7 separate regions of the Homo sapiens genome follow, and all the other regions are linked to region 7. The links are contacts of gene promoters, found by promoter capture Hi-C in blood cells and fetal thymus (Javierre and others, 2016). All regions are on one chromosome and are shown on one strand. The core of a region is centred on a gene start or on the middle of the fragment in contact, and the rest is flanking DNA. Distances in the headings are between cores, read along the strand shown.

What was found. The method cuts DNA at HindIII sites, captures the fragments that hold promoters and counts their contacts. A CHiCAGO score of 5 or more calls a contact.
Region 1: a fragment that was not itself captured here is called in contact with the fragment with the promoter of PKD2L2 in region 7 in 6 of 17 cell types (naive CD4 T cells, naive CD8 T cells, total CD4 T cells and 3 more); the score reaches 7.5 in naive CD4 T cells.
Region 2: a contact is called between a fragment that was not itself captured here and the fragment with the promoter of PKD2L2 in region 7, in 1 of 17 cell types (M2 macrophages). The highest score is 5.8, in M2 macrophages.
Region 3: a contact is called between a fragment that was not itself captured here and the fragment with the promoter of PKD2L2 in region 7, in 2 of 17 cell types (M2 macrophages and naive CD8 T cells). The highest score is 5.4, in M2 macrophages.
Region 4: a fragment that was not itself captured here is called in contact with the fragment with the promoter of PKD2L2 in region 7 in 1 of 17 cell types (naive CD4 T cells); the score reaches 5.1 in naive CD4 T cells.
Region 5: a fragment that was not itself captured here is called in contact with the fragment with the promoter of PKD2L2 in region 7 in 1 of 17 cell types (naive B cells); the score reaches 5.2 in naive B cells.
Region 6: a fragment that was not itself captured here is called in contact with the fragment with the promoter of PKD2L2 in region 7 in 4 of 17 cell types (total B cells, naive B cells, total CD8 T cells and 1 more); the score reaches 6.0 in total B cells.

The regions. Positions count from the first base shown.
Region 1 is chr5:137,655,909-137,660,116 of GRCh38, reverse strand. It overlaps KLHL3 (kelch like family member 3), which reads left to right. Exons shown (of 15, transcript NM_017415.3): 8 at 1,837-1,986. Among named protein-coding and RNA genes, the nearest start is that of MIR874, 10 kb to the right of the region's middle. The HindIII fragment of the contact is 430 bases long and covers 1,353-1,782 here.
Region 2 is chr5:138,106,851-138,110,952 of GRCh38, reverse strand. No RefSeq gene overlaps it. Among named protein-coding and RNA genes, the nearest start is that of WNT8A, 25 kb to the right of the region's middle. The HindIII fragment of the contact is 5,133 bases long and covers 1-4,102 here.
Region 3 is chr5:137,682,565-137,686,436 of GRCh38, reverse strand. All of the region lies in intron 5 of KLHL3 (kelch like family member 3), which reads left to right. Among named protein-coding and RNA genes, the nearest start is that of MIR874, 37 kb to the right of the region's middle. RefSeq lists silencers at 1,483-1,777, 1,752-1,997. The HindIII fragment of the contact is 2,531 bases long and covers 409-2,939 here.
Region 4 is chr5:137,640,272-137,644,112 of GRCh38, reverse strand. All of the region lies in intron 8 of KLHL3 (kelch like family member 3), which reads left to right. Among named protein-coding and RNA genes, the nearest start is that of MIR874, 5.5 kb to the left of the region's middle. The HindIII fragment of the contact is 6,724 bases long and covers 1-3,841 here.
Region 5 is chr5:138,054,030-138,057,882 of GRCh38, reverse strand. No RefSeq gene overlaps it. Among named protein-coding and RNA genes, the nearest start is that of FAM13B, 23 kb to the right of the region's middle. The HindIII fragment of the contact is 1,758 bases long and covers 1,177-2,934 here.
Region 6 is chr5:138,035,274-138,039,455 of GRCh38, reverse strand. It overlaps FAM13B-AS1 (FAM13B antisense RNA 1), which reads right to left. Exons shown (of 2, transcript NR_037900.2): 2 at 523-3,263. It also overlaps a transcript of FAM13B not described here. Among named protein-coding and RNA genes, the nearest start is that of FAM13B, 4.3 kb to the right of the region's middle. RefSeq lists an enhancer at 2,988-3,197. The HindIII fragment of the contact is 4,067 bases long and covers 571-4,182 here.
Region 7 is chr5:137,888,207-137,892,343 of GRCh38, reverse strand. It overlaps PKD2L2 (polycystin 2 like 2, transient receptor potential cation channel), which reads right to left and starts at 2,887. Exons shown (of 15, transcript NM_001300921.2): 1 at 2,822-2,887; 2 at 1,762-1,863. The coding sequence starts at 2,852. It overlaps PKD2L2-DT (PKD2L2 divergent transcript), which reads left to right and starts at 3,025. Exons shown (of 4, transcript XR_948815.3): 1 at 3,025-3,197; 2 at 4,056-4,137. The HindIII fragment of the contact is 1,963 bases long and covers 1,537-3,499 here.

The sequences.
Region 1 (4,208 bases), core at 318-2,817, 230 kb after region 7:
TCAGGCCTCTCAGAGTGAACACCTCTGGAATAGGATGTTTCATTACATTCATTTGACTTTGAAACTTCAAATGAGTATAATTGCTGGGATGGCTGATGGTGGTGGAGGAGGAGGAGGAGAAGGAAGGGAAAGCCCTGGGCAGACCTCCACCAACACTGCCTGACTTCTGGGGGAGGTTTTTTTTTCTTTCACAAAAGGTAGCATTTATTAGGCTTTTACTCAGCATTTAAAAATATTGTACTAAATGTATAATATGTTGTGATAAAATGTTTATTACATAAACTTTGTTATTTTAACCATTTTAAGTGTACAATTTAGAGGCATTCATTACATTCAAATTCAGTACAACCATTACTATAAAGATTTCCAAAACTTTGTCATCACCCCCAAAGTTGAAACTCTTGTACCCATGAAGCACTAACTTTCCAGGAGAACTTTTAATTCAAGCTGAGTAAGTTCTTCTGGAGAAATAGCTGCTCATGCATTTCTCCTTCCTTCCAAGCTTTTTCAGGCATCCTCTCCCACCCTTTTTATTTTGTAATTGACCCTAGAAGTTTATGATTTGTCTCAAGCTGGCTCAGTTCCTTACTGGGAGGGGAAAAAAAAACCTTCCAAGGAAAACAGTTCTTGGGGACTGTCTCTGGGGAGGGAGGTGGTCAGAGGTACACAGAGGCCTTCTCTTGCCAATCCTTTTTTCCCTGCCAGCTCCAATGCTGCCCAGCAGATGATGGCCCTGGCCATGCTTTCATTCCTAGTGACAGATGGGGACCCAGGAGAGGCTCAGTCATGCCTTGTGCATCACTGACTTGAGGGCTGAGATAATTGAGGTGGGAGGCCCTTCTCATTCTCTGACTGGACTTGAATTCTTCAGGGTCAGAAATTTTGTCTTGTTCATCATTTTCTTCCTGGGGACCAGCACAGGGCTGCCCAACCAGGAGACATTCAATCAGTGTTAGCTGTTGAATGGAATTGATCTTTCCTAACACAAAGCAGCCCCAGAAGACCACATTACCCATTCCAGATATGCCACACAGTGATCTGACCTGGGCCAAAAGGTGGGGATTGGAGAGTTAGAGCACCAGAATGGCTTCATGCTTGGTCTTGCTCATGAAACCTTTAGGCTTACATGTGCTGAGCACCTGCTTAGGTCCTAAGCTCTGGAATAAGAGATAAAGAAGCCAGAGCCCCAGCTTAGATGGAGTCCTAGGTGAGGTCAATAGGTGGGACTTTGTGCAGGGTAATTTTTCTGCTCTGATGTTGTTACTCTGTTAGAAGGAGCCTCACTGGCCGATTTTCTGCCCTGAGACCTTCACTATAAGACAACGAATATGAATCTTTCTCCTTGACAAGCTTATTTTACTCAATGCCTCCAAAGGTTGGCTGATGGCTCCCACACCCTTTCCTCTTTCCCCTCACTCCTCCTCTCAGATGTCTGTTTGCCCTAAGCATTATAATGCATTCAAATCAGGAGAAATGTGGTTAGAGGCTTTCAGGATGGCTACTTGTCTTTTGTTTTGCATAAACTCATTTAAGCCTCAAAACAAACAAAACTAGTGAGGTTGTAGATACCTTTAATATGCCCATTTTACAGATGAGGAAACTGAGGATCAGAGACGTTAAGTAGTGGATCTGGTCTAATGCCAGAGCTTGATCCCTTATCCCACTGTGCTCTTAAAATGCAGGAGGTGAGCAGTAAGTTGTAACTCTTTGGGTCTGAGATGATGTGGTGAAGGAATGAATGAGTGTGGGAGTGCAGGAATGACTGAGCCCAGGGTGAAAGCTTGGGAAATGTGGCTGAGCTGTGCTCCAGGATCATCTGTGGATTATTACCTCTAGACGGTTGAAGAAGAAGCTTTGATAAAGAATAACAACACCTGTAAAGACTTCCTCATTGAGGCCATGAAATACCATCTCCTCCCTCTGGATCAGAGACTATTGATTAAGAACCCAAGGACCAAGCCCAGGACTCCAGTCAGCCTTCCCAAGGTAAGCCCCAGCCCAATCACCACCAAGAGTCAGGACTGTGCCCTGGGAAAGTGGCCTTCCACTCCTGCCTCCAAGTCTTTCCTCACCCATGGCTGCCCTGCATCTTGGTTGCATTTACAACCTAGGAGATGGAGTCTGCTGGTTCCTCTTGAATCTGCTGGTACCTCTCTCTTCTGGGGTCTTCCTTTCCTAAGAGTTTCAAGGTAACCTCCAATGTCATCAGGGAGGTTTGAGAATAACTCAGAGCTCCCTCTCACCCCCACCCTGACTTCTCATTTCACACCATGGCTTGTGCTCTATTTCTGTTGGAAGCAGAGGAATGGCTATGTTGGTTTCACTTAGTGATGGCCATAGTAGTCCTCTTTCTAGGCCATTCTTTGAGTCAGAATAGTCCTAGTCTGTTTCTTTTCCCCACTCAGGGAAGGACATAAAGGACAATTAGGGCTGCCCCAGAGAAGAAAAGGGGTTCTAAGAAAAGGGACCCTGTCAAATTGAGGAGTTTGACAGGTCACGAAGCAGAGGAAGGAAATGGGAGAAATGAGAATTTGTGAGGGAGCAGCCAGGGAAAGGGAAGGAAGACACAGGAGGGGACCCCATGATCTAGAGACCTAGAGTTTATGGTGTGTGCTGGCTGCTTTGGTTCCCTGCGAGTCTTCTTTCCTCTCTGACCCTCAGGCTCCTTATCTATAGAATGAGGGATGCTCCACTCGATCCCTAAAGTCCTGTCTGGTGTGGCACCAAAGTAGTCGTTTTAGGAGTCTAACATGCTGATGTCTGGGGGAAGGAATCAGTCAACCCAGGAGGAAAGGTGGGAGGAGAGGAGTGGGTCGTGTTGTCTCATTGATGACACAGTAGGCAGCACCAGGAAATTATTTAGGCCCTTGCTTTGTCCTCCTCCTCCTCTTTCCAGCTGGCTGCCATCCTCCCTGCCTGCTTCTTCCAGGAAGGTTTCACAGTGGCTAGAGGCATGTTGTTTTCCAAGACCAGGTGTTGGAATTCTCTGAGGTTTGCAGGACCTTCTTTCCCCTCTGCTCCTTGACCTTGGATCATGGGGAATATATTGGTTGCAATGTGAACAAATGTCTCAGTGTCCCAGATAATAATACAAGCAGCTAACCTTTATTGAGTGCTGAGGTTATCACTTGAATATCTTACTTAATCTTTTCAACAACACTACAAGGTAGAGATAGTTATCCTAGTTTTATAAAGGAGGAAACTGAGTTTCAGAGAAGTTAATTTACTTGCCCAAGGTCAACACAGCTAATGTGGTAGAACCAGCATTTGAACTGAGTCTTTATCACTCTCCAAACCTGTTCTCTGAACTCATACCATCCTGCACCTGGCTTCACCTTTGTAAACCTGAGAGTGCATACTTGCCTGTTGGCCTCACGTTGCCTAGTGCAGGTTAGAAGAAGGCACAGCCGCAAGGCAAGGCCTTGGTCTGGCTGGACATTGGTCTTACTGCAGGTTGATGCCTTTTGTTTTGTTTGGTTGAAATATTGCATTGAAACTTCTTCATATTTTTCAAAGTGAAAATAACTTAGCTTTCTTTAATTATAGACATATGTGCTTATTGTGGATTATTAAAAGGATACTACAATTTTGAAATTAAATAAAAGTCACTTGAAATGTCTCCTAGGATAAAAAATCTGCTATTATTTGGAAAATTTTCTTTCAGACATGTCTCTCTGCACTTTTTCACAGATAGATACAAATGTACAGTGTATTGCTATACAGATTGAACTATTTTTCCCCCCATGCAGCCATGTGGTACAGACTGCTTTTAATATTATCAGTATAGGTGAAATCAGCATTTAAATTGTAATGGTACATGGTGTTTAATTGTATTTATGCACTATTATGTGCATATTATGGACAGTCCTCTACTGATGGGCTTTGCAGTAATTTCCTTTTTTTTTTGTAATGTAAACATTTCTGTGTCAAGTATCCTTTAAAAGGTGGCATATTGTTTGAGTTCGTATTTCTTTCATTGGGAGTGAGATTAATCTTGATTTCATATGATTATCGGCATTTGTATTTCTATTTTGGAGAATTCTCTGTTCATGTCCCTGGCTCATTTTTCTATTAGACTGTATTTTTTAATTAATATTTTTTATTCCTTTTTTTTTTTTTTTTTCTTGAGGCAGAGTCTTGTTCTTCTACCCAGGCCGGAGTGCAGTGGAGTGATCTCAGCTCACTTCAGCTTCCATCTTCCAAGCTCA
Region 2 (4,102 bases), core at 549-3,048, 220 kb before region 7:
GTACATAGGAGAAAGTGGAGATGACTAAATAAAATGATACCTCTTCCTTTCCTGCTTCCAGGGTGATCCAAGAAATTTCTCTCTCCCCATCCAAATCAAGAGTTGATGACACTGCTGTGACTGATGCCTTTTGTTCCCAGACCAAATTGTTTTTATTGCCTACCCCCTGCCGGCACTTTCCAAAGCACCACTGCCATCAGCTCCAGAGGGAATCCCTTCCTCAGGCGTCCTGGGCAGCAGCTGCAGGGTGATGGCAGGGAGCACAGAATGGGAGGAGAAAGCAACTTGCAGACAAATGGGCAGCTAATCAGACCAACAGCCCAATCACTAGACCCATAAAAAAATTCCATTCCCCACCTCCACTAACCTCATCTGCATTTTTTTGGCCAAGGTGGGGAGAATGCTCCTTGAAAAGTTATGCTTCATAAGATCTATCAAAGCAGGCTCAAATTACTGCCCCCCACACCTTATTCTTTCTCAAGCCAATTGTGCTTATTCAGCCGAATAGTTGTCAAATCACTACAGACCTTACAAATACTAAAAGGACAATTGGGGAATATTATGAACAACTTTATGCCAATAAATCGAACAAATTAGATGAAATAGACAAAGCCTTTGAAAAATGCAAACTACCAACAGTGTGTCAACCTGAAGCACAATTTCTGGGTCTTCCTTTTAAACTCTTTGCAAAGTTTGGATCTCTCTCAATTTTCAGGATTTTTCATTTTAAAGCAGCCTTACTGAGCTTACTTAATTAGCATTCTCAACTGTTCTGCTAGGAGCTGGTTACTTCTCAATACAAGTTATCTAATTGTGGGATGGAGAGGGTTAAGCTATTTTATAAGAATAAGCATCTCCATCTTGAGGGGGAGGATAACACATCTTAATCAGGATTATAAAATCCTGATCCTTCTGGGCGGCCTTTATGTTGGGGCCAGAAGGACAGCCTCTCTGAACTTTAGTGTTTCTGGTCCTTGCCACTGTGAGAACATTTCAAGGAGTCTTTAACATATATATGTGGTTAGAGTCTTCTTGTACCATAAAATGGTTAGACAAGGACCAATATAAAGCAGTCAGTCTGCAATGAGGTTGGAGCTTTAGAGATAAGCACATCCTTTTCAGTGGTGCTTGCTTTTATAATGTGTCATTTAGCAAATGGACTGTGAAGAATTAGTCATGCCAAACTCCTAACCATCTGATGACTGGATATGGACTAAACATCTCAGATGAAAATGTTTAGACTTTAAGCCTTCAGTCTTTCAAAGCTCAATTAAAATAAAGTACTATATCTAATTTAAGTTCTAGTTTAACTTAGCCTGTTTGCAACTTTTATAGATACAGGTTCAACATGTAAATGGCAAACCATTATCAATTCCTTCATGCTTCTCAGGGATGATTTAAGAAAATGTAATATTTGAAACTGTTGTCATCTTTGTGGTGAGAAACAAATATGTATCCTAAATTAAATTAAAATGTAATATTATTAGGGTATTGTCCCCTTGGTGAAATCATATTATTATATCTCTCTGTTGCTAAAATGGAAGGTGCCAACCCGAACACACTATTGTGTGTAGGAAGTCAGACTTTGTTTAGCTTCCTGTAGATTCTGGGTGCCCCCGTGCCCTCCTCCTTCAATTCTTCGGTAGCTACCTGGCTCTAAGGCCTGGCTTTAAGTTCTCCTAAGCCATCTGAGCTGGCCTTTTCACTGGATTCCCTCCCTTTTTCTCTTCATGTAGTACTTTTCTCTTCTTCCTCTTTATAGCTCTATTCTTTTTAAAGCCTCTTCATCTTTTTTCCTGCCCTTATCTTGATCATTTCCCTTTATATTTAGAATGCTTCTGACCTCCACATAACTGCTATAAAGATTTTGAAATGATGAAGCATGTCACAAAGTAGAGGAATTTTTTTTTTGTGGGCCGGGGGGACGGAGTCTTGCTTTGTCGCCCAGACTGGAGTGCAATGGCACAATCTCAGCTCACTGCAACCTCTGTCCCTGGGGTTCAAGCAATTCTCCTGCCTCAGCCTCCCGAGTAGCTGGGATTACAGGCACCTGCCACCACACCCGGCTAATTTTTGTATTTTTAGTGGAGATGGGGTTTCACTATATTGGCCAGGCTGGTCTTGAACTCCTGACCTTAGGTGATCCGCCCACCTCAGCCTCCCAAAGTGCTGGGATTACAGGCGTGAGCCATTGCATGCGGCCAAGTGGAGGGATTTAAAACAGTATACTGGCCGGGCGCGGTGGCTCACGCCTGTAATCCCAGCACTTCAGGAGGCCGCGGTGGGTGGATCACGAGGTCAGGAGATCGAGACCATCCTGGCTAACAGGGTGAAACCCTGTCTCTACTAAAAATACAAAAAATTAGCTGGGCGTGGTGGCGGACGCCTGTAGTCCCAGCTACTCGGGAGGCTGAGGCAGGAGAATGGCGTGAAACCGGGAGGCAGAGCTTGCAGTGAGCAGAGATTGCACCACTGCACTCCAGCCTGGGTGAAAGGGCAAGACTCCGTCTCAAAAAAAAAAAAAAAAAAAAAAAAAAAAAAAAAAAAAAAAAAAACAAATAAAAAAAAATGCAAAAAAATTAGCCGGGCGTCATGGCGGACACCTGTAGTCCCAGCTACTCGGGAGGCTGAGGCAGGAGAATGGCGTGAACCCAGGAGGCGGAGCTTGCAGTGAGCCGAGATCGCGCCACTGCACTCCAGCCTGGGAGACAGAGCCAGACTCCATCTCAAAAAAACAAAACAAAACAAAAAAAACCAACAGTGTACTAACGCGATTTGTTGCTGTTCCAGTTGGCCATGGGACTCAAGTTGAATGGACACTTCCTGTACTGATACTGAAAACAGATCCTACATCCTATGTCCGTTGAGTAACTAGGTTTGAAATTAATTCTCTCTACTTTGTGACAATCAACAATTACTTATTGAGTATCTAGTGTGTAGCTGATATGGTTAAAAAAATTATATTTATGTTAGTCTGATATTCAGGGCTCCCACAGACTGGCCAGTGCTTATCTTTCTAATGCTTATTTTTCTAAACTAATCTCCCCCGTACCTGCCTTTATGGACTCTGCTCTAGCTAGAGTGGTCTGTTTGCTCCCTTGCTCATTCCCGTCTACATTTGCTAAAGCCATTCTCTTCCTTTGCCCTTGCTCCCCAACATCACAAACACTGGACGACCCTCCTCTTTCTGTTTATACAATTTCAAGCCTATAAGATAATTTCCTGTAATTTTGCTCTAATACATGCTTATCTCTTATGCCTGTGAACTACTCATACTTAAATTCTGACTTGGCTTGTAGTTAATATATTTCCTTGACATAATGTGCTGGACAGTACATTATGAAGTAGTTTAACATTTGGCCTTTGGAGACAGCAAAGCAGTTTTTACAAACATTTATGTATTTTTAAAGTGAATTATCTGGTAACCTCCCAAACAAGAATAGGTTCGTTCAGTCTCCCAACAAAGCAGTTTTTATCATGACTCCATGACTTCCTAGCTCTGTGACAATGGGGAAGTTTGCTTAATCTTGCTGAGTCTCAGTTTCTTCATCTATAAAATGGGGATAATGGTAGTTCCCATCTCACAGAGCTGTTGTGAGTACTAAATGTGATAATATATGTAAAAGTATATAACAGTTCCTACTGGCAAAGAGGAAACATTCAGTCAACATTAGCTGTTATTATTTCCCTTTAGTATTTTTACTTAGCTTATTTATATATGGATTATGTTCCCATCATTAATGGAAAGATTACTATTTGCTGTTATTCATTATATGCCAAGCACTGTACTAGGCACTTTTTTTTTTTTTTTGAGTTGGAGTTTTTCTCTTGTTGCCCAGGCTGGAGTGCAATGGGGTGATCTCGGCTCACCACAATCTCCGCCTTCTGGGTTCACGCCATTCTCCTGCCTCAGCCTCCCAAGTAGGTGGGATTACAGGCATACGCCACCACGCCCGGCTAATTTTGTATTTTTAGTAGAAATGGGGTTTCATCATGTAGGTCAGGCTGGTCTCGAACTCCTGACCTCAGGTGATCTGCCTGCCTCAGCCTCCGAAAGTGCTGGGATTACAGGTGTGAGCCACCACGCCTGGCCTGGCACTCT
Region 3 (3,872 bases), core at 425-2,924, 200 kb after region 7:
CTCTATCATGGGAGTAGCGCATCCTATCCTGTTTCCAGGATGATCTGGGGAACAGGGGGAATGGGGAGGAGAGCATTCTATGGAAGTAGACACCACAGGCGCTGTGCTGTGGAGCCTCCCTGCCAGCCTCATCATCTGCAGTGAGGGAGCTTCACAGTTGGGTCCAGGCAGGAGACACAGGAATCCTCAGGTCACTGCTGCTGCAGACCACATGCACTTTTGGGGAGGAAGGATTTCCAGGACTTCTGGTTTTGTTTTCTCTTTATCTAGATGTATAGTGCAGGCAGGTATGTCCTGTCCAGCCTCCCCTACTCTTCCCAGTTTCTGGCTAGCTTTGCTTTGCCTTCACTTGTCTGTAGATTCCAGTTTAGCTGCTGAATTCTGTTTCTTTTCCTTCTCTAAAAAGCTTTCTTTTTCTGTTGTTATTGTTGTTGTTGTTATTATTGCTATTTTAATAAAAACTCATCCCTGACTATTACAGAAAAAGCACATGGGTGGAAAGAATTATACCACAATCCTACCCAGAGAGAACTGCTGGCAGCACCTTGATGTATATCCTTCCAAATCTTTTTCATTGTATATGTATGCTTTCCAGCTTAAAAAACATTTTAGCCAGGTACAGTAGCAGGTGCCTATAGTCCCAGCTACTTGGGAGGTTGAGGTTGATAGCTCAAGCATTCATGTGTAGCTTGAGCCACGGAATTTGAATCCAGCCTGGGTAACATAACAAGACACCCCATCTCTTAAAAAAACATTCTTAGCAGTATATTCTGAATTTCTTTCCATGTTAGCAGATACATTTCTAGACCATTGTTTGAAACATTTAGGTAATATATTCAATAAAAGCAATTTATACTCATGACCAAAAAATGCAAGCAGTACATAGAGGTATAAAATGCAAAGCCAGTCTTCTCCCAGCCTGTCTCTCTGAAGTGGGGAGATCCTTGGTATCCTTACAGAATTTATATATTATGCTTTTTAACTTACACAACAGAAAGCACTCTGTACTCGTTGTACTTTTGTTTGACAATACAAATCTTGCAATTATTTCCACACCCTTGTGTATGGCTATATCTTATTCTTTTAGTCTGCTGCATCTCATGGATGGAGTATAATTTATTTAACCAGTCTTCTGTTGATGGACATTAATGTTTCCAGTTTTTTTATTTAAAATGCTTCCATGAGAATTCTTGTACATAATATTTTGGAGTACACTTGCTAGTATACCTGTAGGGTACAATCTTAGTAGCATAGTTGTTGGATCAAAGAGAATGTACATTAAAAAGTTGTTTGATAGATTTTGCCAACTTGCTGTCTAAACAAATGTGACTTTATTTTAAAGCCAGTCTTGCCTTCTGATAGGTCCTCGGCTTTTCCAGCGAGAGCACAACTTTGTGGGGGCTGAAGCATCATCTCTATGTCCAGCTGCCTATTTGGTTTCCTGTTTGGAAGGGCCCTGTCTCTTCCTGCTGTGGCAGTCCCTCCTGCTTCCTCTGGATTCAGTTTCCCCCTCAGGGAAGTTCCCCAGATCTTTGCTATGATATATGTTATTCTGGGGTAGGGAGGGTAGGTCCCGCATTTAGAAGCTGACTGCTCAGACTCTTGCCTTAGCTAGTGGCATCACAGTCTTCCTGGGCAACTAGTAGCTGGGAAATGGACCCCAGTGTCTTTCACAGCCTGTTTCTTATACCTCATTATTGTTGTTTCCAGGGACTGCTTAATCTTTAACCTCAGAGGCCAGGGCCTAGGGTTATGGGGACTTTGTTGTTTGGTAATTGGACAGCCATACACTGGGCCATCAGCAGAGCTGTTTGGGAGGGATGTTAATGGGACTTCATTAATGAAATAGCAATTAAAATTCTTTGGACATGTTGTTTACATCAGTCTGCCAAAGCTAAGCAAAAACCTCCAGCCATGGGATGGAAAAGCCATTGGATTTCACGTGCTTATGGAGAGAAATGGCCTTTTTTTGATTGATTGAGTCATTTGAGATCATGGAATGAAGTAATTAAGGCAGCAGAAAAATTTGGAAAATCATTAAAAAACATAAATCTCTGACTCAGTGAGAGTCCTCTTCTAAAATTGCTGCTCCTAACTTGTCACCATGAAATAATGATGATCATAATGATGGGCATTTCTATCATTTTTGAATACTTGCTAGGTGCCAGGAATGGTGCTACATGATTCATAGGCATGGCCTCATTTTGTTCATTTAAGTATAAGAGTTATTATTTTCTCAGCTTATAGGTGAAGAAACTGTAACCCCAGAGAAGTTTAGTAACTTGTCCAAGATCATATATTAACAGCTTATAAGTGGCAGTGCCAGAGTGAGGCCAGCTGACTGCAGAGGTCTGTGTCCTAAGCCCCGCTACTTATTTCCCACCCACCCAGACCAGCCTAGCCTATTTTCTATGATGGTTGCCTCACTCCTGCCTCTCTTGGATTTTCTGCATCTAATTTGAAGTTGGCAAATGAGGCAGTCGTGCAGACACAGATAGGTTTCGTTGCTTGCTCTTTGTTAGGATTTTAGGAAACTTCACTTGTTCCATTTTCTGGGTTATGGGGAACCTCACTGTTGAATCAATAGCACTATTATGGCCCTTGGCTGTGTGTATGTGTGTGTGTGTGTGTGCGCGTGCATGTGTGTGTGTGAGAGAGAGAGAGAGAGAGAAAGAGAGCTAGAGAGAGAGAGAGAGAGAAAGAGAGGGAGAGGACAACACATAATATTTCTGGAGTAAGGCAACATGGAAAGAGAGCTTATTTCCTGCCTTCCCAGGGAGTGTGGAGGTAGTAATATTTAGAGTCTGAGGGCTGGTGGTCATGACCCTTCTGAGAAGAGGTCAAGGTGGGTCTCTGTTACTTCCCTGTGGGAACTGAGCCTTTTCCCTAGAGCAGAGAAACTGTGAGCCTGGAAAGCTAAATATTGATTCAAGGAAGCTTGCCTCTGGCCTCTAAAAATAGAGTAATAAGGGGCAGAAGAGAGAGTTTTAAGGCAGTTCTGTGGTTTTGTTTTTTCACCCTGCCAAAATGTTTCCATTTTGTTTGTGTGTCCACCTGTGTCAGCCAGTGTCTCCTGAGGGTGTGACCTGTGGTTCAGTTCAGAGGCACTCACACCTGTTCCCTGGGGCTGCTGGCCCTGGGAATTATGGGGCTTATGGGGTTTATTTCATCTCTGATTGGTAAAACACAATGAGTATGTTCCCGTCCATGTGGATGGGAAATTATGGAGAAGAGGAAGAGGCACCATATAACTTTCAGTCTTTTCCCACCAAGCAACACAAACATATCTTCCCAATGTTAAAAGGATGATAAAATTTGGGTGATACATTCCCAGGCAAGGGCTTTCTCTGGGGGTACAGTTGGGTCTCAGAGAAAGTTGAGGCCATTTCCTAATACTAGCTAACACCATTCTAAGCATTTTACATATATTATGTCTCTCAATCCCCGCAAAGTCAAGGAAGTCACAGATGGGTCATCATTCCATTTGTTCTGAGCTTGTAGGTTAGATGAACCAGATCAAAGGTTTAGGTTTATTTCATTCCGTGAAGAGAGAAGAATAGTCCTGGGGCTAGCTTGAGAGGTTGCCTGAACCCTAGGCAGTCTTGAAGAACAGTCAGGAAAGTGCAGTAATAATTTTAGAGCTCGGTATATACAGATATTATGCTGGAGACTGAGGATTCAGCTTCAAATAACACAGACTTGATCCCTGACCTCATGGGGCTCCCAGTCCGAATAGAATAGAAAGATTCATGTAATAAAGCAGGGTGATTAGGGATATGATTGTTATATCTTGTTTGGGGGGCTTTGGGAACCCCAAAGACTATCACTTCCTCTAGCCTAGTGGATGGGGGGATTAGGGAAATATCTTAATT
Region 4 (3,841 bases), core at 996-3,495, 250 kb after region 7:
TTGGTGACAGAGCGAGACTCTGTCTAAAAAATTAAATAAATAAAAAGGTGAAATCCTGTCATTTGTGACAACGTGGATGAACCTGGAGAACATTATGTTAAATGAAATAACCCAGGCATAGAAAGACAAACACCACATGATTTCACTTATATATGAAATCTAAAACAGACAAACTCGTAGAAGTAGAGAGCTGAATAGTGGTTATCAGAGGCTGGGGAAGGGAGGAGGGAGGGGAGATGGGGGTGATCAATGGATACTGTGTTACAGTTAGAGAGGAGGAATACCTTCTGGAGTTCTATTACACAGTAGGGTGACTATAGTTAACAATAATGTATTGTATATTTCAAAATAGCTAGAAGAGAGGATTTTGAATGTTCTCACCACAAAGAAATAATAAGTGTTTGAGATGGTGGGTATGCTGATTACCCTGATTTGATCATCACCCAATGTATGCATGTATCCAAACATCACACTGTACCCCATAAATATGTGTACCTATTATGTGCCAACTAAAAATAAAACAAAAAAATTGAGTTTCCTATGCCTATGAGAGAAGCAGATGTATACCTGCTCTTCCTGCTGCCTTGAGCTACCTCTGAAACTGATGGTCCTATCCCACAAAACCTCATAATTCATTTTCCCAGATAGTTGTACAAGTTTTGTTTGTTTAAAGTTATCTCTTACCAGTGGTTTTATGAGCTCAAAGCCAAGTTTGTTTTGAAAACCTTATCTTGTATTCTATTTTTTTTTTTTTTTTTGAGACAGGGTCTCACTCTGTTGCCCAGACTGGAGTGCAGTGGTGCTGCAATCACAACTCACTGCAGCCTCAAATTCCTGGGCTCAGGTGATTCTGCCACCTCAGCCTTCCAAGTAGCTGGGACTACAGGCATTCACCACCACACCCAGCTAGTTTTTTGTATTTTTTGTAGAGACGGGGTTTCACCATGTTGCCCAGGCTGGTCTTGAGCTCCTGGACTCAAGAGATCCACCCGCCTCTGCCACCTAAAGTACTGGGATTACAGGCATGAGCCACTGCACCTAGCTGTCGTGTATCATTTTTGTATTTCTACTCAGGCTTTACTTTAACATTAAAAAATTTGCATTTCTGTAATACTGTTTCTGTGAAAATTCTCAGAGATGAGTGGTAGATTTTCTCCAATATGCATGTACCCTCTACTTCCCTGGTGGGAGATAGTTTCTGGGGCATGGTGAGGGTTCCTGAAAACTTTGCCTTTTTTTTTTTTTAATTTACAAAAGAAGCTGGATAGCTTATGCCAAGTATAAGCAAACTTTCTTTTGGTGGTTGAGTCAAAAGATGGGAAAAGCTCTCACTTTCTCTTTTTATTTTGCTTGCTTTTTCCTCACTGTCTCCAGAATTTTAACCTGGTGTTCCAACATATTTTAACTAAAGAAAATGACGTTCTAGTTTAGTTTCTTTTTTCATTTTTAAAAACTCTGTATTGTTTGTTTAACTCCTTGCATGTGCTATTTACTTTTTATTCATGTATTCTTTATTCCAAATAAACACTTGAGCCCTCACTTTTACCTGGCAACATAAGTATATGGAGTTATCTTGGTGACTGAGGCAGATACGTTTTCTGCCTGGGCAGGGCTCACTGTCTAGAGGTGCAAAAGACAAGACACTGATGGTCCAGCACAATGCAGAACACACAGGGCAGGTGAAATCTCAGAGGACGGATATGTAGTTCTGACCTGGAGGCCAGGGAAGTCCATTTGTAGGAAATAACATTTAAACTGAGACCTGAAAGATAAGCAGGTGTTAAGGCAGAGTGCTCAGAGATGGGAAGGTTTCGAGTCAGGGAACAGCATGTGGGAGGGTGTGGGGTGCCTGAAGTCCTTGCAGAAAGAAAACTTAAAACTGCTTTTATTCTCACTCAGCTTCAGAAATCAGATTTCAAAGAAAATCCTTGCAGTATTTTCCTTCAGTTTAGCTTTACCAACTCAAAACCGGAAAGACAATGCAAGTTCTGGGCATATTTACGAACATGTCATTCTGCCCTTGAAGAGTAGGTTAGGCATTATCTGGTGTTTGCCAAGGGGCTGTGTTCATTAACATCCCCCTTGAACTGTTCATGGATGCCTGTCTAAGCAAAGAATTACAAATGGGAAGTAATGTAGAATTCATGTTTACTCTGAAAAAGGCTACTCTTGACACAGAGCAGTGGACCCTCTGAGCTGAGGCACCCAGGAAAGTCAAGTTTCTGTCTGGAAGCAGCAGCAGCAGCAGCTCGAGGCTGGGTTTTGTGTCCTGGGTTCCTTTGGAATGCTTTAGAAGTCAGAACTGATTTCTGAATTTTTGAACACTGGTTACCCACTTTTGGTGACAGACAGCTATGGACTAAGTCTGATGACCAGTGACCACCCACATGGCAGTGGGTGAGCCTGTTCTGGAATATTGGGGAATAAATGGTTGATCTGTAGTAATGGTGGTGAGCTCTGGTTTTGCCTCCCGTATGGTGGGAAGTGTTCACTTGAGGGATGTGCCTTTGCGAGTTCACACAGATTTTGATGGGCACTTCTCTCCCCAAAAATACATCATGGGGAAGTAAAAAGCACTATGATAATTCATAATGGCAAAAGTTGTTCATGGCATATCATCAGGAAATCCATACAGAGCATGGATTAAAAAGGTGGTTCTCAAAGTATGAACCCTAGAGTGGCAGCAGCAGCAGCACCTGGGAACTTGTTAGAAAGGCAGCCTCTGGGCTCCACTCCAGATCCACTGAATCACACTCTGGGGATAGGGCCCAGCAGCTTGTGTTTTCACAAGTCCTCTAGGTGATTCTGATGTATGCTCAAGTTTGAGAACCACTGGGTAAATAAGACAAGCTACAGGTAATGATCAAATGAATTTGCTGGTTGTGACTTCCACCCTTTCTCTCCACTCAAGAAAGCATATTGGAATGCCGTTGAGTGAGAGTGACATCATTGTGGGGACAGCTATGAATTTGTACATGTTTATTAAAATATGTAAACTATAGGTAACTGGTACTTTAATTTTTTATTTATTAATAACATGTGACCAAAGACACAGCAGTGATACCATAATTAAGTACTGCAGTTCTATTAACCTAACCAGAGCAGTAGTTTTCATTGTGTTTGACCATGCCCTTGCAATACAAAATGCATTTAAATTGCTATCCAGAAGACACATGTAAGTGTGTATAGCCAAAACCAATATTTCATGAAATAATATTCTTATCATATTTTCTGTGCTTTTAAAAATATATGTGCTGGTCATAATCCATTAAATTGATTTCATGACCTACTAATGGAAAGCGACCTGTGTTTTGACAAACATAGATGCAGCAAGCTGTGTTTGCTTGGATCCTGTCTCTAGAGCAGGAGTTGGGGGGGGTGGCTGGCCTCACCCTCTGTCAGGTAGACTTGGGTTTCAGTCTCTGCCTACACTCTTAGCTGTGTGACCTTGGGCCACTTACATGTGTTCTCTGAGCTTTACTTTGCTATCTGTCAATGTGGATGATGATATCTACCTCACAGTTGTGGTGACAAGTAAATGACAACACATTTCACATGGTACCTAGCAGTGGTAGCTACTACCTTACTTGTGGAAATAGGACTGCTAGCACTAGTTTCCAGAACATCATCAGTTTAATAACTTTTGTAATAAACATCTCACAGGAGTTTTTCAATTTTTTTCTATACTGCAGTGCATAAGTGCACCCTACATTCTAGGCATTCAGAAATGCTTTTGAGTAATACTTTAAAACATACGTCCAAATTCTGAACTCTTTTTCAAAGTATATTCAAGTTTGTTTTGATATAAGATTTAGCACCCCCCATTCCCAATCTGAGGGCA
Region 5 (3,853 bases), core at 806-3,305, 170 kb before region 7:
CATGTTGGCCAGGCTGGTCTTGAACTCCTGACCTCAAGTGATCCACCTGCCTTGGCCTCCCAAAGTGCTGGGATTACAGGCATGAGCCACCATGCCCAGCCTATCTTAATTTTTTATATTAAAAGTGTTTTGGTCTTTATTTCGAAGTTTGGTGATGTTTTTGTGACAAGAAATATGCCACAGGAACTTACCTCTTTTTTGTTTTTTTTTAGACAGGTTCTTCCTCTTACACCCAGGCTTCAGTGCAGTAGCGCAATCATGGCTCACTGCAGCCTTGACCTCCCAGGCTCAAGCAATCCTCCCACCTCAGCCTCTGAAGTAGCTGGTGCTATAGGTGTGCACCATCATGCCTGGCTAATTTTTTGTAGAGCTGGGGTTTCACTATGTTGCCCAGGCTGGTCTTCAACTCCTGGGCTCAAGTGATCTTACAGCCTCAGCCTCCCAAAGTGTTGGGATTACAGGCATGAGCCAAAGTGCCCAGCCTTAACTCTTGTTTATACCAATTAGCCTGTGGTAAAATTGGTTTTGTTATACATCATTTCACTTAAAGTCACAGTTTCCAAGAAACTATCACTGATGTTAAGTGAGGACTTACTGTACTTCACTAAAAAACAAAACAGGCCGGGTGCGGTGGCTTACGCCTGTAATCTCAGCACTTTGGGAGGCAGAGGCGGGCGGATCACAAGGTCAGGAGATTGAGACCAGCCTGGCTAACACGGTGAAACCCCGTCTCTACTAAGAATACAAAAAAAATTAGCCGGGCATGGTGGTGGGCGCCTGTAGTCCCAGCTACTCAGGAGGCTGAGGCAGGAGAATGGCGTGAAGCTGGGAGGCAGAGCTTGCAGTGAGCCGAGATCATGCCACTGCACTCCAGCCTGGGCGACAGAGCGAGACTCCATCTCAAAAAAAAAAACAAACAAATCTTTGGTCAGGAGTTTGAGACCAGCCTGGCCAACATGGTGAAACCCCATGTCTACTATAAAAATACAAAAAAATAGCCGGGTGTGGTGGTGGGCGCCTGTAATTCCAGCTACTTGGGAGGCTGAGGCAGGAGAATCTATTGAACCTAGGAAGTGGTGGTTGCAGTGAGCTGAGGTTGTGCCATTGCACTCCACCCTGATCAACAAGAGCAAAACTCCATTTCAAAAAAAAAAAAAACAACGGTGCTTTTAAGCTTTTAAAAAATCACCACCAACAACAAACCACAACCCCCACCACCCCACAATATTTTGGTCAATTTTAAGTTTAAATCAATTTAGAATAAAAGACATAATAATGTTCCCAGAAAGCCTCTGCCTATAGTATGGGCATAGGACCTCTTTCTCAAATACTCAGCTCTCAGTATTCACAACTACAGTTATCTTCACGCCTTGTTTGCAAATTAGCTCTTAGCTCAGAGCTAATAACTTTTACTTGAGGGAATCAAGTCAGTCTTAGATGTCTTCTCTCCCTTGACTTTAGTCACCAAGTGCAATTTTTTTTTTTTTTAATAGAAAGGGTCTCACTCTGTCACCCAGGTTGGAGTGCAGTGGGGCAGTCACAGCTCACTGTAGCCTCAATTTCCTGGCCTCAGGTGATCCTCCTACCTCAGCCTCCCGGGTAGCTGGGACTACAGGTGTGTGCCACCACACACAGCGAATTGTTTTGTATTTTTTGTAGAGACAGAGTTTTGCCATGTTGCCCAGGCTGGTCTCGAACTCCTGAGTTCAAGCGATCTTCCAGTCCTGGACTCCCAAAGTGTTGGGATTACAGGTGTAAGCCACCATGCCTGCCGCATAGTTTTTGAAGCATACAACAATCTTTTGTCTTGGTTCTGTCAAATACAGAGTTTTGATAGTAGGAAGACAGGTTTATTGAACACTTTATTCATGAAGCAATTCAAGTAATAAATTCAAACTTTTGTCTGCTATTTGCCTTTTTTAAAAAATTAGCATATCTTTTGGCAGTTTGCATTAAAAATAGAGGCTGTACCTATGAGGATAACCTTAAAAAATAAGTTGCAAAAAACAAGATCAATTTATTGCCAATCTTTCCCAAGGTGTTTTAATTTTTATTATTCTTTTTGGTCTTTGCCCCTCTGACAATTCCATGGTAGGTAGGTTTAGAAAACGACTGATAATTCACTCTGCCTCTTCCTACGTAACCCATATTTATCAGTCTGTTGCAGGTGGCTCCATTTTGGTTCAAAAGGCACTGAACAATTTTGGGGAGAGGAGATACAAACTTCCTCATAACCATTGTATAGCTACCTATGCCTAAGAAAAATGTTAGGGAAAGGTCTATTGTTCCCCATCTACCCCTTTTCCTAATTTGAAAACAAGGAGCAGTAGGGGAGGGAAGGGGTCCCACATGGAGGTCTATGTTCCTGACAAGGGTTAATTTACTAGCGTGCAAGCCTCGTCCAGAGTCATTGCAGCCAATGGGGGTTCACTCTGATGAGGTAATGCTTTCAGCCCATGTTTCATTGGTTTCCCTTCTCATTACTTGGCGTTCTCTCAGAGGCTGGGAAGTGGAGAGGGCTAGTTTTAGGGCTAATAGGAGCTTTTTCCTCGTGACAGGTACAGGTGGTGCTTACAGAAATGCTTGGAGCCACGGGGGGAAATCTGTTTCCTCTTCTCAGATGTCCTGCATCTTGAACCAGTTCTTCTACCTGGGGCTGTAAGGGCATCTCCTAGTCTGGCCCTTATCCCCATTCGTCTGTCAGCTCCCAGGGTTCTCAGGAATGAGAACGAGTGAGAGGAAGTTGACTTATACCCTGAGGAGCCGGAGCTGAAAGGAAAGCCTGCCAGTCCTCGGATGAATACATCCCATTACGTTTGTCAGCCTAGGACCTTTGAATCCAGCAGCCCTTCGCTTCTGAACCCTCTTTGGCCGGGGAGCAGTAGCGCTGGCTGTGAGTCAGGCTGACTGCCTCTATACCTCCCCTACAAAGCTTGAGGGGTGATAAGGAAAACTGGGGCTTCCTTCCAGTCATCTTTCCTCTGTCCATGGTCTTTTATTTTGCTTACCTCCATTGTGGGAAATTGTGTTGTCTGCACTGTAGTGGCCCATATAGGTCCTTTGACAAGCAAACAACTGTTTACTATGTCTCTGAAAGAACTTGGAGAGCCCTCGGCCCTGCTTTTTTTTCTCTCTCTCTTTTTGCCCTGCTTTTACATCAAGATCTGTATCAACTTCCTGGCAAGGAGGGAGAAAGCACCAGATTCTAGGCTGTGTGTAAACAGGGAAACTGAGGCTGGGAGGATGAAGTAATTGTGGATGAAGTGGGGATAATAGACAAGTGCTTGTCTCTGACAACCAGCCTGATTTTTGGCCGTAAACTCATGCTTCTTTTTACACGTTTGAGAATTAGACAACAAAGAAGCAACAGGGTATATTCAGTATGGTTGAACTCTCTGAAGTTTTTCAGGTCTGACTTATAAAGAAGAAGTGGACATTGTACACATGAATAGGACTTTACAACCACGTGGGGGAAAATTAGTAGAGGCTTCTAAGAGAGAACTGAAGCAGAACAGATTCTGTGGGCTCTGAGAGCTGAGGGAGACAGCATTGCAGAGGTGAATGGGCTGCCTGGGTTGCTCTGTAGAGTAGATGATCAAACCAATTTGAAACAAAATTTAGCTGGAAGCATCAGTCCTGCTTTTCATGGTTGAACTTCACAGAAGGAGATTCTGGGAGTCGAAGGGAATAACATTTTATGCTATTTTTCTGTGTAATTCTGGGAAAGGAGCTCTTTTTCTGTGACCCAGTTTAGCTGTCTAAAAATAAAAAAAATCACCCTGAATTCAAAGGAAGAATCTGTAAGTGAAAGGCTCACTCTAAGTGTTTAAAAGGTTGGCTACGGCATTTAAGA
Region 6 (4,182 bases), core at 1,355-3,854, 150 kb before region 7:
TGCTGAGAAGCAACTTGGCTGGTCAAATGATAGGAAGGCTCAAAAGCCTAGAGCCTGTAAGGAACAGGTAGGATATGCAAAATGGTGAGACCCTCCTGCCTAGATTTCTGGTTAAAAAGGCAGCAGAAAGTTCATGATTTTGTGAAGGTCATAATCTCACTGAATCTCAGAGCAGTTTTTTCTTTCCCCTATATGGATACAGGCAGAGGGAAGAAGAGAAAGGGATATTTATTCTTTGTTATTTATTTATTTTCAACAATAAAAGTTCTGATTGTGGAAAAAATATCTAGCTGATTATAGGAATTTAATAAAGAAACCAAAACAAATTAGTCTTATAGCTGATGATAGTATTGGCCTACATTATTGTCATACACTGAATTCTGAGTTATCAGGCCAAATATGTGGACTTGGCAAAGATGAGACTTACTGTTAATTGTTCCAGCTCTCCAAACTGGATGTGACTGGCACCAGTGGCTATATGAGTGAATATAGAAGCTGAAATCCACATTATGTTAACTTTGGTTCTATTCCACCAAAATATTTTATTCCAGAGATATGTAAGATGAAGCTTTTCCAGGGCAGAGATCATGATCATATCGCCTAGCACAGTGCCTGACCCATAATAGCTGCCCAAGAAATATGTGTTGAATAAATAAATGGCACAAAGGTTATTCTGGGTTGCTAAGATCAGAACAGTATTTGCCATTATTTTGGAGGTTGGCGTGGGATTTGTACACCCTGGAACAGTTTCTTCTCTTTGCAGCTAGTGATATTTTTCTGTTTATGAAAAACACACATTCTTGCACACTGGCACAATGGTCCTGGGCAAAGTGGCACAGAAAGATTTCCACTCCATTTCTTGGAAGAGCCAGCAATACATCTCTCTAATGGTGAGTTGCTTCTCTTTTACCAGAGGATTTAAATTTGATGTGTTTTTAGTTCTTCCTTTCTTCCCAGTAGAGGAGACTACCTCAAGGAGAAAATTCATTAGCTGAGTTTGACTGAATTTGATAGCATTTTACTGCTCTGTGAGAATCAAGAGTAGTCACAATCTCATCTCCATATGCACTTGTTTTTCCCTGCACACAAGACTGCATGTAATGATGGCTTCCTATCTGTATTTACAGTCATGTCTTGTTCTACAAATGGGCAGTGTAAATATGCTTCTAATTGGGGAAGAGATGTGCTTGTATTTACTGTAACTTACAAGGCTCAGAAGATCTTAAAACCAGCACCGAGAGTTTGGGGGAATTCTTAGTGGTTCTTGGTTTTCATTTACAAATAGATAGACAAAGATTTGGCAATTTCTGTCAAGAAAGGTGTTCACACTGGGCCTCATTCCTGGCAATAAATCCAGATATGAAAGCAAGACATTTTCAGGTTGTTCTCTAGGCCTCTGAATGCAGTATAGGAGAGGGAACTGAAAAAATTGTATATGGCTAATAAAGCACTTTTATGCATACCAATTCATTTAAGTCTGTTTCCCTATTTGACTAATGGGGAATCTAAGGTACAACTAAGTTAAGTAACTTGACCAGAGTCAAAAGGCTAGTAACAGGGCTAGAACTGGAACTTGGAATGTTTGTTTTATCTATTTTACTTTTAAGTGATAGAATTGGTGGGGATAGAATATATCTTTTTGGCTTTTCTGGCTAGGGTGGCTCGTTTCTTATTAACATCGTATTAAGAAAGACAAGGCAGCCTTGACTGAACTCAAGTTAATCTATATCCCAGTACTCAAACAGCCTTGCTCAGGGAGATCAGTAACGGTAAGGAAAACACCTGATTAAAAGTTTCCTTACTGATGGTGCAAGGGAAGGGCTCAACATCCTGCTACATCTGGAAGAGATGAATTCAGTCAAACTCATGTAAAGGATGGAAGAACCCATTTGCATTCTCTGTGAATAATGAGGGCATTATTAGCCATCTGTAAAGTAACTGCAGAGACAGCTACTTCCTGACTTCAAGTCTCATTCCAGTGACACTGGTGACCTTGGGGAGGCAGATATGCTGAGGTCCTCCCTGGCATCTAGAATGCAGTCCAGGTTGTAGCAAAGATATATTCCTTCCACAGTGATGTGACTCATGACCTTACTTCTGAGAGGCATAATGCCTCTGTTCAGATAAGCTGGGATAGAATGCTTGTTTTCCAGGCTTAAAAGTCATCTTGCAAATAAATAACAATTTTATCTCAAGTAGTAATTTTCCTGGCATGGCCTCATCTCCAGAAGGAGTCTTGGAAACACAAAGGATTGGTCTATACCAGTCACTTCTCATCCTGGCCAAATAGCTATTGCAAATGCTATTTTTGACTCTATTGATATATTGAAATGTGACGTTTCCATCTACAGGTAAAGAATTTGTAGGAAAAAAAGAAGAAAAAGTGATGTAATTTTGAAGTATTCTTTTAGTGAGGTATTCTCTCATCTCTGTAACAAACAGAATTGCTGTTCTTTGCTGTAGGGGCTGTCCTGTGCCGTAAAGGATGTTTACCAGCATCCTTGACCTTCTCCCACCAGCCAATAGCACCTCTCCAGTGGTGACAATCAAAAATGTCTGTATTCAGCAGATCCTGAATTCAGAAGGAAAAAAAAAGTTTAAAAAAAAACCAAAAATGTCTGCACACATGGTCCCCCAAAATTGTCGCAGTTGAGAACCACTGTTTTAACTGAAGCAACAAGATTATTATAAAAGAAACCATCTTCTTCCCTCCATCCACCAAAAAACTAAAGTAATTTCTGAGATAGACCCCCTCTAGAAATTTCAGAGGATTTAGACAAAGCAGGTAGATTAAATACTCAGTTATTTAGTTATAAAAGGCCAAACCAGAATTATTGAGGACAATGTCTTTGGAGACTGTTGCTGGTGAGCTGTGATTCTTACCACAGGTGCCTGCCTGCCTTTTACTTCAAGTCGAGGGAGTGGGCCTTCAATGGATCTGCTCAGAGCACTTGACTTGTACCTCCTGCAGTCTGAGGGGCACCGTGGGCCTGTGTCTGACTCCCACAGGCTGGCGGCTGTTTTGGCAGCAGAGTAGAGGAATGTTGAATCTGCACTGGGATTAGCCTGTACTCCCAAGTTTGTTCGGGCAAGAGGTGCCTGAGAGCTTCCTGTGGACCAGGTGTGGGCCATACAGAGCTGTCACTAGGCTAACACAGCAGCACCATGAGAAAAAAGCTCTCCTTCGTCCAGACGCTTTGCTTCCATCTATTGGGAAGCAGTCGTTGTAATTTAGTTTGGACAAAACACTTTACTGCCACCTGCTGGAAAAACATTAAAATAAATAACATACAGAACTACAGTGAGAATGATGTGAATGGCACCCCCTAGGGTACGGAGTGCACAACCTTGTCCCACAATAAAGGGTCACTTGCAAATGGACGAGTGTGAGAGTCATCTCAGATCCTATCTGACAGGGCCTTTACAGAGATGCCCAGGTTTCAACAGACAAGTAGTTGGAGGTGCGTGGAAAGAAGTAAATAACTGCCAAAATAGCTTTACGCTTAGACCAATAGAATTATGGGGGAGAAACCACCAGAGAAGGGGGATGGTGGTAGTCTCTGAGGTATCCATGAAAAAATAAGTCAGCTTTAAGCATCTACCATGCCCAGGGAATGTCAAACCATCATACAAAGTTAACAACTTTCCTGCTCCTTTTTCTCCCTGCCTTCCCCAGATTTGGTTATGATTAGTTAAGCCGGGAGGAGAAAGACTAGGCAGGTTAAAGATGACTATGGTCCCCTCTTTAGGGCAAGCAATGAGACAACTGTTCCCAGCTGAAAAAGAGGAAAACATTTCACTCTTTGTGACTCAATGACAACAGGACTCTATTCCTAAGGAGACCACAGAACCCCTAAAAACTCATGGAACCTGCCTGAGTTTTCAATTAGGTACATGACAGATCTACTCCCACTGCACAAATTGAAAGGCATGGCAAAAGATACAAAATAAAAGTGTTTGTTTTGAATTATAGCCCATGTGGCCCCTATGTTGAACATACTGTTTTTATATTATCAAGTAGGATCTAGAGAATATATCTTCCAAGAATATGTTCTGCAGTTTTTGAGGGGGAAAATGGTCATTGATCAATTCATTTGTTTTTTGAGATCCCATACTTTGTGGGTAGGGTATAAAAACGCAAGGGAGGCCGGGCACGGTGGCTCACGCCTGTAATCACAGCAC
Region 7 (4,137 bases), core at 1,638-4,137:
CTAAACTAGAAATATAAAAAGTAGGATGTGGTTTCTAGAATTAGTCTGGCAAATATTCTTCAGACATTTCTTTATGCATACACATTTATAAAGAAAATAATTTTATCTTTACAAAAATGAGGACACATTATACACACTATTCTGCAAGTTGACTTTTTCTCTACATGAGAGTAAGGCAATATAGTATGGTGAGTGGTTAAGGTTACATGGACTTTGAATTCAGACAGATAAGGGTGTGAGTCCCATCACAGGGATAGTATCTCTTACCCCCTAGTTTTGTTGTGAGAAGTGAGATGATGCACACAGAACATTTTAAACTGTGTTTTGGCACATGATGAGTTTTTAAAAATATTAACTAGTGGCGGGGCGTGGTGTTGCACCCATAATCCCAGAACTTTGGGAGGCTGAGGTGGGTGGATCACCTGAGATCAGGAGTTCGAGACCAGACTGACCAACATGGTGAAAACCCTGTCTCTACTAAAAACATACAAAATTAGCCGGGCGTGGTGGCACAGGCCTGTAATCCCAGCTACTCCGGAGGCTGAGGCAGGAGAATCGCTTGAACTCAGGAGGTGGAGGTTGCAGTGAGCCACTGTACTCCAGCCTGGGTGACAGAGCGAGACTGTCTCAAAAAAGAAAAAAAAAAGAAAAAAAATCACATTATAAATGGAGATTCAGGTTGCTGTATTATATTAAAAAAAGTGTTCTTTAAAAATCTCTGAATAATGGGATTATAAATGATCTTTTTACTTACATTTTTACATTTTCCAAATGTTCTGTAGTAAGCATGTAGTTTTCATAACCAAGCTTTTATAAAGCAGTCTAAGATATCTTAATTTATAAAGTTGCCTACAGTTATCTTTTTTTTTTTTTTCCTTGGGACAGGGTCTCAGCCTGTCACCCAGGCTGAAGTGCAGTCGTTGCAATCACAGTTCACTGCAGCCTCGACCTCCTGTGCTCAAGCAATCCTCCACCTCAGCCTTCTCAGTAGCTAGGACTACAGGGGTGTGCCACCACACCTGGCTAATTTTATAGTTGTCTTTTCAATCAAGAGCAGACTCAAACTCACCCCTACAACACCAATTAATTACTTAATTGCTATACAATTGCCAGTGTGTAGCACATACCAACATGAGACAATACTGCCAGTGAGCTTTCATCTACTGTTATGTTGGGTGCCATCGACAAATGCTCTTTAATACTCCTCTTTGCATATTAAGCCAATGCTATTGACCCACAGGTAGGAGGAATGCAGGTTGAGATGTTTTCCCAGTCCTCCTTAATTATTTGCATTGACTCAGCACAAACTATTTTTTTAACTGCAATAGGTCAGTGAAAAGAACCAAGCTAATGGCAGACACCAAGATGAACTTTGGCCTCATTTGTACTTTGATTTATGAAACTCAGCTGATGTGTCTATATGACTCTAAACAAAATCAAATTGCAGTTGCCAACCCAAGGGATGAATTATGCTCAAGACAGAACTGCCAAATGAAAGGAATAATTCTAATTCAGTCAGTATTGACTATGGAAGCTTCTTACATTTGCGATGTAAAATTTTGCCCCTTAAGAACTGAAAATAGTCAATTTCTAAATGAAATGAATCTAAATGAATTTAAGATTATGTTTAAACGTGTCACTGTATTTTGAGTTTTAGTAGCCTGACAGCCTGTGGTTTTGAAGTTTGTATGTTTTATTTTTCATCTCCACATTTTAACTTCTTAGTTCAAACAAACAGCATCTTTATATCTGTGTACTTACATATACATAGGTTTATTAAAAAAATAAAGTAGAGTAACAATTCCTGAAGTGTGGTTGTAATTTCTACTTCCTTTCTGTAATGCAACTTATGTTTCGAAGCCCCTGTGAGATATAAGACAAAATTTTTCTTTACATTATTATGTAATTTATAAGTGACAACAATGGAAAAACCACAGCCACTTTTAGTCCTTACACTGCGGGGAGGAAAGCTCCAATAGCTTCTGGCTATTTTTCAATTCTTAGTTTTACGAGGCAGGGATAATTTTTTTACTATATACTATTAATAACAGATTTTTTTTTTGAGACGGAGTCTAGCTCTGTCGCCAGGCTGGAGTTCAGTGACGCGATCTCGTCTCACTGCAGCCTCCGCCTCCCCGGTTCAAGCGATTCTCCTGCCTCAGCCTCCCGAGTAGCTGGGACTACAGGCGCGCGCCACCACACCCAGCTAATTTTCGTATTTTTAGTAGAGATGGGGTTTCACCATGTTGGCCAGGATGGTCTCGATCTCTTGACCTTGTGATCCGCCCGCCTCGGCCTCCCAAAGTGTTGGGATTACAGGCTTGAGCCACTGCGCCCGGCCACTAACAGATTTTATATCATGATGTCTTCTCGCCAGTCTTAAGATGAAAAAGCAAAATACGAAACAAGTAAAACCTCTCATCTGTCCTAACCGTTTTCTCCACCCTCAATACAGCTTCTTGGGAAGGCTGGTTTCTGCTGGACAGGGGAAAAACACCTCGGCTTGAATTCTGTCAAGGTCACGACTCCCCAGATCAACCAAGGACTTTAGAGACCGGCCTAGCGACGGTCACTCGACAGGTGACAACGCCCAGCTCGAGCCTCCGGCAAGAGGCGAGCGCCACCTCGCTCAGGGCTTCAGTTTTCCCGTCTGTGCAATGGGACCATCTGTCCCTCTCCGCTTCCCCAGGGGAGGCTGTGAGGGCTAAAGGTGTCGGCAGTCACATCTCTCAAACGAATTTGGGGCCGCAGAGTTCCTTTCAGGGTGTCTGGAACTGCCAAATCGCCCCTGTCCCTCCCACTCCTTAAGAGGACCCCTCACCGCCTCGGTGCCACCGTGACGCCTCAGCCATGGCGGACCTGCACTACACCGCCCGTTCGTTCGCCTGAGGCCGCGGCGCTTGCGCGCTAGTCTTGCGGCGCGCGCTGCCCGGCTCTGACGCCTGCGCGAGCCCCCAGCTCCTCCAGGGCGGCGAGCTACTCGACAAGTCGTCAGCGCGGCTGCGCCGCAGGAGCCCGGGAGGCCTTTCGCCCGAGGCGGGCTGCGGGCTGCTGGGGTCTGGTGCGGAGGGCCAACTTCTGGGAATAACCTGGCTGTGGGCTTAAAAATCGTAGTCATTCATTATCACGGGCTTCTCTCTCTCGAATACCTTTAACATTTATCGCCTTGTTAGTCTCCACATCCACCTCCGTGAAAGGTAGGTATTTTTGTCCTCATTTTAGGCCTGAAGAAACCGAGAAGCTGAGAAATGAAGTAATTCACTGGAAGTTGGGGCCAAGTCTTGGATGCCCAAGCCCAAATTCCTAACCGTGACCCTACGCTGCTGCTGCTGCTGCTACTTGCAGAAACTGGTTATTAACCGAGAGCTGTTGCTGGAAGTAGCTTCCACTCCCCTGCCCCCGTGATGTAAAAATAGATGAAAAACTCTGCAGTGATTATGTGAAAGGTCAGGCCGACACAGGAGTCCTGGGGCCCAGACCCACATCTGACCCAGAAGCTTTGCAAAGATGAGAAGGTTGGTAAACCAGCTATAGAAAAGGCCAAACTAATTTGGCTGTAAATTAAGGCAGCCAAAAGCCCTCCAGGATGTAAGACCAGGACGGATTCTCGTGTTGATAAAAAGGAAAATAAAATGGAATCCAGTCCAAAGGCCCCAGGGAAACCTGCAAAGAAAACCACTAACCAGTTTTGAAAGTAAAAGATAAAGCCACTTTTGTTATTTCCCTGAAAGAGATGTAGACTGCTGTCGATAAATGCTGTTTTATGTGTAGATAAAAAGCAAAACGGCCACACAGTAGTGAGGGTCAAAAACTACCATCGATGAGAGGAACAGGAGAGGCCTCGCAAAAGGCTGACAGCCAGTGAACTAGAAGCCCGAGAGGAAAAAAAGCTTTAGAATAGTTTTAACAAAAGGATTTGGGCTTTCCTGTACTGGGACTCTCAGCTGTTCACAAAATTATGCTTTCTAAAGTAACAGATTATCTGAAATTGAAATTATTAGAGGAAAAACACCCATATATAGGTAATCAAATTTACATAATTTTTTTTTTTTTAGAGATGGAGTCTCGCTATATTTCCCAGTCTGGCCTCAAACTCCTGATCTTAAGGGATCCCCAGCTCAACCTCTCCCAGCAGCT